Linked DNA regions of Homo sapiens: region 2 is linked to region 1. Evidence: promoter capture Hi-C in human tissues and cell types (Jung and others, 2019). All regions are on one chromosome and are shown on one strand. The core of a region is centred on a gene start or on the middle of the fragment in contact, and the rest is flanking DNA. Distances in the headings are between cores, read along the strand shown. Region 1 holds the start of CDC23 (cell division cycle 23). Region 2 overlaps HNRNPA0 (heterogeneous nuclear ribonucleoprotein A0).

Region 1 (4,367 bases), core at 70-2,569:
ACCGCGCCCGGCCGAGACCCTTTCTTAAAATAAATAAAATAATAAAATAACAATTTAAAAATAGATAACTTCTATATAACACCCAGTGAATGACAAAATGGTTTCAAAAAAAATTCCCGAGGGGTTGGTAAGATAGTATACTACTATGAAAGGATAAAAACCAAAAAACGCCGAAAATGTTCATGTAATGTTTAAGAACATTGGGCTTTGGAGTAAAATCTGGTTTATAGTCTAGACTCTCTCCTTGGAAGAGTGATAGAACTTCTCTGAGCTTCCGTTTTTTCTTTTTTTTCTTTTCTGGTTTTGTTTTTTTTTTTTTTTTTTTTTGACGGAGTCTCGCTCTGTCGCCCAGGCTGGAGTGCAATGGCACGATCTCGGCTCATTGCAACCTCCGCCTCCCAGGTTCAAGCGATTCTCCTGCCTCAGCCTGCCGAGTAGCTGGGACTACAGACACGTGCCACCACGCCCGGCTAATTTTTATGTATTTTTAGTAGAGACGGGGTTTCACCGTGTTGGCCAGGATGGTCTCGATCTCCTGACCTCGTGATCCGCCCGCCTCGGCCTCCCACAGTGTTGGATTACAGGCTTGAGCCACCGCGCCTGGCCGAGCTTCCGTTTTTCTTTCTATAAAATTGGGATGATACGAATATCATAGTGCTGTTTTTAGGATTAAACCAGATTATAGTTGTAAAAGAGCAGAACCTGTTGTAGGATAAACCCTCAATAAATGTGAAATGTTAACAATTATTGTTAAATAAATGTTACAGAACAATGCTCTCACCCCCACCTCCCCGGGCTACCCGGGGTAAGAAAGGGTAGACAAAGAGGAAAAATCCTCCACATGGGGCGATACATCCTCCTATTTTAAGGAAGAATCCAGAGGCTACCATGCATCTTTCCTAGCATATACATCACTTTGTCATTATCTGGTACAGAGTCGGCCCTGAAACTACACCCTTTCTATTTTTCATCCAATCACATCACCCGTGAAAGGCACTCTCCCTTCTCCACCCTTTCTTGCCCCTACTCCCACCCCTAGCTTCCCAGTTTACTTTTCCCAGTCACTCATTCCCCTCTTCCCCGCCCCGCCCAGAGGTCGTGGCTTCTCCCTCGCCCCGCCTATTTTCTAATTTTCCCGCCTCAGTAGCTCTTGGCCATTTGGGGATGTAGTTGTTTCTTTTCCCCCGCCTCTTCGTGACGTTTCAGAAATAAGACCTATGATTGGTTTTTCCGGAGCAAGAGCCGGCCAATGACAGGCAGATATTTTTGGTGCAGATGGGCAGCCAGTATTATCGCCGATGATTGGCTGGAGTGGCCCGAGTCGGGAAAATGGCTGCGAGTACCTCCATGGTCCCGGTGGCTGTGACGGCGGCAGTGGCGCCTGTCCTGTCCATAAACAGCGATTTCTCAGATTTGCGGGAAATTAAAAAGCAACTGCTGCTTATTGCGGGCCTTACCCGGGAGCGGGGCCTACTACACAGTAGCAAATGGTGAGATGTTGGAGTGGGAAGGGACGGGGCTTGGATCCTTGGCCTTGGGGGGCTTGTCGAGCTGATCTAGTTTGTGTGGGTGTTCCAGGTCGGCGGAGTTGGCTTTCTCTCTCCCTGCATTGCCTCTGGCCGAGCTGCAACCGCCTCCGCCTATTACAGAGGTAAGGACATGTTTACAGTGAGCGCTCCCCATCAACCCAGGGGTGTGCCTCAAGAGCCACTGAGTGCCCTGTCACTGGAGGAGAGCAAACTGCTTAGCAGAAATGTTTGTAGAGGGAATTCAGGCATTCAAAGAGCTGAGTGTTTTAAATGATTTTATCCATTTAGTTTTCTTGAGCTTTGAAAGACTTGGTGGTGCTCTTATTTAAAGCTGGGGAGAATTAGTAAACAATTACTGCTTATGATTTCAGCCTTTTAGGGCTTATAGCCAAACCTAGACATAAGAGTGCCTCATAATAGTAAATATTATTATAAGGAATTATTATAAGGATATCTCATAATAAATACCCAAAAGGATGAGAAGAATCAAAAGTTTTGGTCTGGCGCGGTGGCTCACGCCTGTAATCCCAACACTTTAGGAGGCCGAGGTGGGCGGATCACGAGGTTAGGAGTTCGAGACCAGCTTGGCCAACACGGTGAAACCCCGTCTCTAGTAAAAATACAAAATTAGCCGGACATGGTGGCGCGCGCCTGTAATCCCAGTTACTCGGGAGGCTGAGACAGGAGAATCGCTTAAACCCGGGAGGCGAAGGTTGCAGTGAGCTGAGATCGCGCCATTGCACTCCAGCCCGAGGGCAGAGCGGGACACTGTCTCAAAATAAATAATAAATAAATAAAGTTTTTACAATACCTACACTGTTGTCTGATCAGCATAGCAAATAATGGTTAAGTTTGGGTGCTGGATTGAGACGACTCTGGGTTCAAATGACCTTTGGCAACTTAACCTTCTGAGCCAGTTTCCTCATCTGTGCAGTGACGATAGTAATAGTATCTACTCAATGGGGATATTGAGAGAAGTCAATGAGATAATAATATAGACCGCTTAGAAGTGTGCCTGGTGCTTGCATCTATATTTCGGTCAAGTTCTTTATTAGCAGCACCAATGTGGGCAAATGATTTCTAAGTGACAGCCTTCTCATCTATAGATAATGTTAATAATTGCTGCATTTTCAAGAAGATTAAATAAAGCAATAAGGGTAAAGCATACGGTATACTCTTAGGTAAATTTTTTGAGTCAATGCAGTTTATATTTGTCTCATTAGCTTTTACTCTTGTGCCCACTTTCATAATGCCTAGGCCCATCGTTGGTCCTGAATAGGATAAATAATTGTTTTTGTTGTTTAAATTTTAGATTCAGGGGTTACTTGTGCAGATTTGCTACATGGATATATTGTGTGATTCTGAGGTTGGGCTTCAGTTGAACCCATCATCCAAATAGTGAACATAATACCTGATAGACAGTTTTATTTTATTTTACTTTTTTTTTTTTTTGAGACGGAGTCTTGCTCTTGTTGCCCAGGCTGGAGTGCAATGGCATGATGGCTCACTGCAACCTCTGCCTCCCGGGTTCAAGCAATTCTCCTGCCTCAACCTCCCGAGTAGCTCGGATTACAGGCACCCGTCACCACGCCTGGGTAACTTTTTGTATTTTTAGTAGGGACAGGGTTTCACCCTGTTTACCAGGCTGGTCTGGAACTCCTGACTTCAGGTGATCCACCTACCTTGGCCTCTCAAAGTGCTGGGACCTGGCCAGATAGTTTTCACCCTTTGCTTTCCTCCTTCCCCACTCTTGGAGTCCCTGGTGTCTGTTGTTCCCATCTTTAAGTCCGTGTGTACCCAGTGATCAGCTTCCACTTGTAAGTGAGAACATGCTGTATTTGGGTTTCTATTTCTGTGTTAATTCACTTTGGATAATGGCCTCTAGCTGCATCCATGTTACTGCAAAGGACATGATTTTGTTCTTTTTTATGGCTGTGTCGTATTCCATGGTGTATATGTACCACATTTTCTTTAGTGCACCATTGATGGGCACCTAGATTGATTCCATGTCTTTGCCATTGTGAATAGTGCTGTGGTAAACATGCGAGTGCAGATGTTTTTTTGGTAGAATAATTTATTTTCCTTTGGGTATATACCCAGTAATGGGATTGCTGAGTCAAATGGTAATTCTGTTTTTAGTTCTTTGAAAAATCTGTGAACTCTGTTAGTTCAGAGGCTGAACTAACTTAACAGTTCCATCAACAGTGTATAAGTGTTCCCTAAATAGGATAAATAACTATTGAATGAGTAAATAAAGCATATTTATTGAGAAGTAGAGCCTCAGTAAATATCACCCTCTCCTGAGGGTTTGTATTATATACAGGGATTTTACAGACATTGCAGAAACCTGACCATTATTGAATTATTGTAAAGTATTAGCTATTGGTTTGTTGAATAGCTTTCAGTTTGCTGTGAGAATGATTGATTCAGCAGCCTCTTTACCAATTTGTTGTGTACTTAGTGTTTTCAGGTCTTCTCTAGGGACTATCTCTGAAAAACCCCAGAGTAATGTTTTGATCTAAAGTGTAAACTAGAGTAAACCTTAAAACTGTGATTTATTTACTTTATTTTGTTTATTTATTTTTTTGAGATGGAATGTTGCTCTGTCACCCAGGCTGGAATGCAGTAGTTTGATCTCGGCTCACTGCAGCCTCTGCCTCCCAGGTTCAAGGGATTCTCCTTCCTCAGCCTCCTGAGTAGCTGGGACTACAGGCGTGTGCCACCACACCCAGCTAATTTTTTGTATTTTTAGTAGAGATGGGGTTTCACCGTGTTGGCCAGGCTGGTTTGAATTCCTGAACTCAGCTGATCCACCCACCGAGGCATCCCAGGGTGCTG
Region 2 (4,433 bases), core at 1,137-3,636, 470 kb after region 1:
GGTATAAGTGATCCACAATCTTTTCAACTCTACCATAGGTATCTACATATATATGTTGAGAGATGCTGCTTTTTGGCCAAAATGAATCTTGAATTGGGGGTGTGCAGAAAAAGTTATATCTGGCCTGAGGCTGGTATCTTTTAGAGTGGCCTACTTGCATGGTTGGCCCTTATCTGAACACGTGGATTTAGGGGTATTCTCACTGTTCACTAATAAAGGTGGTTCACTGTACCTAGACTGTTCAAACAAGATGATTTATGCTAAACACCTGCTTTCCTTCTGGGAGTATGGAATTTTGGTACATGCCAGGTAAAGGATGTCTATATGACCAAACTCCCAATGAAAACCTTGCATACTGAGTCCCTAGGCAGAAACATCCCTCGTATAAAAATGTGCTCTGTGTGAATCTTCATGGGAGGGAGAGATCCTAAAGAAGCCTGCACATGGATTCCTCCAGATTCTGCTTATGTCTTTTTCCTGTATGATCCAACTGTGTACACTTACTGTGTCACTGTAATAAACTTTAGCCATGAGTACGATACTTAGCAGTGCTGAGTTTTGTGAACCCTTCTATCAAATCTCAATATGGGCTTGGTCCGGGGGATCCCTGACACAGGCAGATTTTTTTTTTTTTTTTCAAAGAGTCACCAAGTTAATTGGAAAACATCAGGTTATGGATAGAAGGAGCAGTTGGGCAACCTGTCACAGAAGTCAGCCAGCTCTGTCTAGTGGAGAGCTCTTCTGAGCTGTTTCTGCTTTGTTAATTCCTTTTCTTTCTCCAAAAGCTTCCCTCCATTTGGTTTTGTCACACTTTATACATTTGTAACAAACTGCTGACCGGAATTTGTCCATCAGGTTATGAAAAATGGCAAATGAGGAGAGTAAAATTATGGATTTATTTATTAAGAACTATTAAAGTATTCATATGCTCTGGGACACCATTACTAGGAATTTAACCTTAACAGAACAGTTTATTGAAAAATTTATTGAAAGGAAAACAGTCTTTGCATAAAAATTATGACGTAGCAAAAAATTGGAAACTAAATGTCAAATATTAGGGAAATGTTAACTGTGGTCTGTCAAAAGGTGAAATATTAACTCAGTGTTATCAGGTGAATGAATTAACAAGATGTGGTATATACATACAATGGAATATTCAGCCATAAGAAAGAATAAATTTCTGGTATATGCTACAAGATGAATGAAAACATGCCAAGTGAAATAAGCCTGCACAAAAGGACATACTATGATTGCACTTAAATGAGGTACCCAGAGTAGGCAAATTCAGAGAGATAGAAATGGGAAATTACTGTTTAAGGGATACAGAATTTCTTTTCAGATGTTGAGAAAGTTCTGAAAATGGATAGTGGTGATTGTTATACAACATTATGAATGTACTTAATGCTGATGAATCGTATATTTAAAAATGGTTAAAATGGCTTTTTTTCTTTTTTTTGGAGGCCGGGTCTTACTCTGGTGCCCAGGCTGGAGTGCAGTGGCATGATCATAGCTCACTGGAGCTTCGAACTGTGGGCTCAAGTGATCCTCCCACCTCAGCCTCCCCCGTAGCTAGAACTGACTACAGGCACGCGCCACCACAGCTAGCTAATTTAAAAAATCTTTTTGTAGAGATGGAGTCTTGCTATATTGCCCAGGCTAGTATTGAACTCCTGGGCTCAAGTGATCCTCCCACCTCAGCCTACCAAAATCCTGGGATTACAAGTGTGAGCCACCACACCTGGCCTAAAATGGCAAATTTAATGTATATTTTACCACAATAGAAATTGTAATGAAAAAATATATTATTTAACATAATAAATATGTAAGTATATTAAAGTAGTGGGATGAAAAAATTGTATCTTTTAAATATTTTTTTAAAGACAAGGGCTTGCCCTGTTGCCCAGGCTGTAGCACAGTGGTGGTGCAATCATGGCTCACTGCAGCCTCAAACTCCTGGGCTCAGGTGATCCCTCTGCCCATGCCTTCCAAGTAGCTAGGACTACAGGTGCACACCACTATGCCTGGTTAAGTTTTAAAATTTTTTTTGTAGAGATGAGGTCTTACCATGTTCCCCAGGCTGGTCTCAAAACTACTGTGCTCAAGCGGTCCTCTCTCCTTGTCCTCCCAAAGTGCTGGGATTACAGGTGTGAGCCACCATGCCCGGCCAAAAAAATTTTTTAAATGAAATCATGGGACGTTGAAATTACCTATTTGCAAATATTTACAATTATGAATACCTTTTAAAAACTCCATAGAATTATTAAGTTCTCAATTTATTTCTATTCTCATGTCATCCACCCTCTCCCCAACTGGAAGTTGCCTCTTCTCCCACCAAGTTTCCATGATACCCTTTCTGTACTTGACTCTCATACTTTTTACCATTGTATATGCCTATGTCTAATTTTCTCAAACAGCTTGTGTGCTCTTTGGAATTATATTAATATAGGATTTATGTTGTCAGTCTCTGGTACAGCCTGCATAGTAGATATTCAGTGAGACTTAGTTGACTGAATCATAAGCATGCTATTTTACGAAGGTAGAGATTTACCAAAATGTTTGAGCATACGTGCCCATGGGTTTTATATCACTTCAAGTGTGTGCCTGCCTCAATTCTCTGTACTTGCTAGATGTGCAGACCTGATCTCACCCACATACACATCACTGTATTCTTGACTTTAGGGCTTTGCATCATTCATTTATATTTTACCTTTTTATGTAAAACAGCCCAATTTTCTTTGGATCCCGAAAGGAAAGAACTGCAGGCGTGAGGCAGGGGCAGCAGATAGAGGAGAGGATCATTGCAGTCAATTTAAAGTTGCATATGCCTATTGGAAAGTTGTAAGTAAGAAATAATGTTCATTCCTGAATAGAATGTCTGTGAAGGAAGCATATATTTTTTTCCTTCTTAAGCCCCAGTTGTAGTAATTAGGTTTTACTTTTGTTATGAAGAGATGTATACTTTTGCCAGCAGAGGGCACCAGTTGTAGGTTGCAGATTCATGGGAAGACTCAGAGACCAGTGTGCTGGTCTGTGTGAAGCACTCTGCTTGTTGCTTTAGTTGGTCTGCCCCCCACCCACCCGCCTTTTTTTTTTTTTTTTTTTTAATTCCCTTGGGTTCCAGTGGTACTCTTCCAGCTTTCCCCAAGAGCATTCTTTGGCTAGTCCTGGTTAATAAGCTAGGTGCCCAGATGAATCCAGGTGGAAGGACTTTATTATAGTAGCTGTTTGGAAGCCTTGGATGCCAGCTTGTATGTAATATCTTTAGGGGTTCAAAGCTGTTTTTCCTCATCCAGAGGTAAGGTGAAAAAGGCATTAGGCCAGGCATCTGAGGGTCTGGTTCTGCACTGAGGTTGGCTCTCTAAGTAGTTTTGAGCCAGTTACCTTTTCTCTCTGTCTCAATTAGCTTATCTCTAAAATGGAGACAGTAAGATAGGGGTAGTACATTCTGTGTATAGCTAATAGTGGTCTCTTAGGTCAGGCAGACCTGGGTTCAAATTCCAGCTTTGCCATTTACTAACTGTGGGGCCTTGGTTCAAGTTATTTAACTCTCAGAACCTCGATTCTCTCATGTTTAAAAGAGAAATAATAGTCCTACAGGGTTGTGAGAATTAAATGACAAGGGTACATGTGAAGTGTGGAATACAGGGTCTGGCCCAGAGTAAATATTCAAGGAATGGGAGCTATTATTACCATTCAGGGGATGTTGTCTTAAGTCAAAGGAGATGATGGATATGAAGCACTTTGTAAGCTTAAAAATGCAACACAAATGGCATGAGTGATTATACTCTGGAATCTACTTGGCGTGAATTCTTTTACCTTCAGAGGAAGAGTCCTTATTCCTCTGGATAAGGTGCTGTTTTGTTTCTCTTTTGACTTTTTGGGGTCTCAAGTTCCTTTTCAGTTTCTGCCTGGCTGTCTGAGGGCACTTGGCAAGTGCTCCTGAATATGAGAGGGCATTTTGGTGATACAGGTGTGGGTGGACCTTAATTTAGCTTTGGTCTTGTCTACTCCTTGCTGACCTGTTGGTAATAGTAACCAGTGGAGATGTGAAAATAGCTCCAGGAGAGGCCCTACCCTGGTTAATTTTCTTCTTGAACCTAGGACCGAGTGCTCAGGTTCGGTAGCATTGGCACAGACAATGAAAATCATAGCTACTAATGGTTGCTGAGTGCTTATTATAGGCCAGGCTCTCAGCTAAGTGCTTTACATTCTAACCTAACAATGCTGTGAAGTAGGTACTATTGTTCTCACCTTTTTTCGAATGAGAAAAATCGAAGCTTGTAACTTGCCTAGGGTCATGTTTCTGGTAAGTACATTTGGACCTTGCCCTGTCTGATTTTAATGGTCTGGGCTCTTTTCATTGTTCAGGTGATGTTTGCATCTAGCTGTGCATTAGAGTCACCTACGAAGTTCATTAAAATTCCCGTTCCTAG

Evidence for each region. Contacts are between HindIII fragments. The study calls those that stand out against the background at their distance.
Region 2: a fragment that was not itself captured here is called in contact with the fragment with the promoter of CDC23 in region 1 in 1 of the 25 tissues and cell types used here (dorsolateral prefrontal cortex).

Annotation. Positions count from the first base shown.
Region 1 is chr5:138,210,275-138,214,641 of GRCh38, reverse strand. CDC23 (cell division cycle 23) reads left to right here and starts at 1,319. Exons shown (of 16, transcript NM_004661.4): 1 at 1,319-1,490; 2 at 1,579-1,651. The coding sequence starts at 1,330. RefSeq lists an enhancer at 1,008-1,302. The HindIII fragment of the contact is 12,003 bases long and covers 1-4,367 here.
Region 2 is chr5:137,741,759-137,746,191 of GRCh38, reverse strand. HNRNPA0 (heterogeneous nuclear ribonucleoprotein A0) reads left to right here. Exons shown (of 1, transcript NM_006805.4): 1 at 1-541. Among named protein-coding and RNA genes, the nearest start is that of KLHL3, 7.9 kb to the right of the region's middle. The HindIII fragment of the contact is 5,717 bases long and covers 1-4,433 here.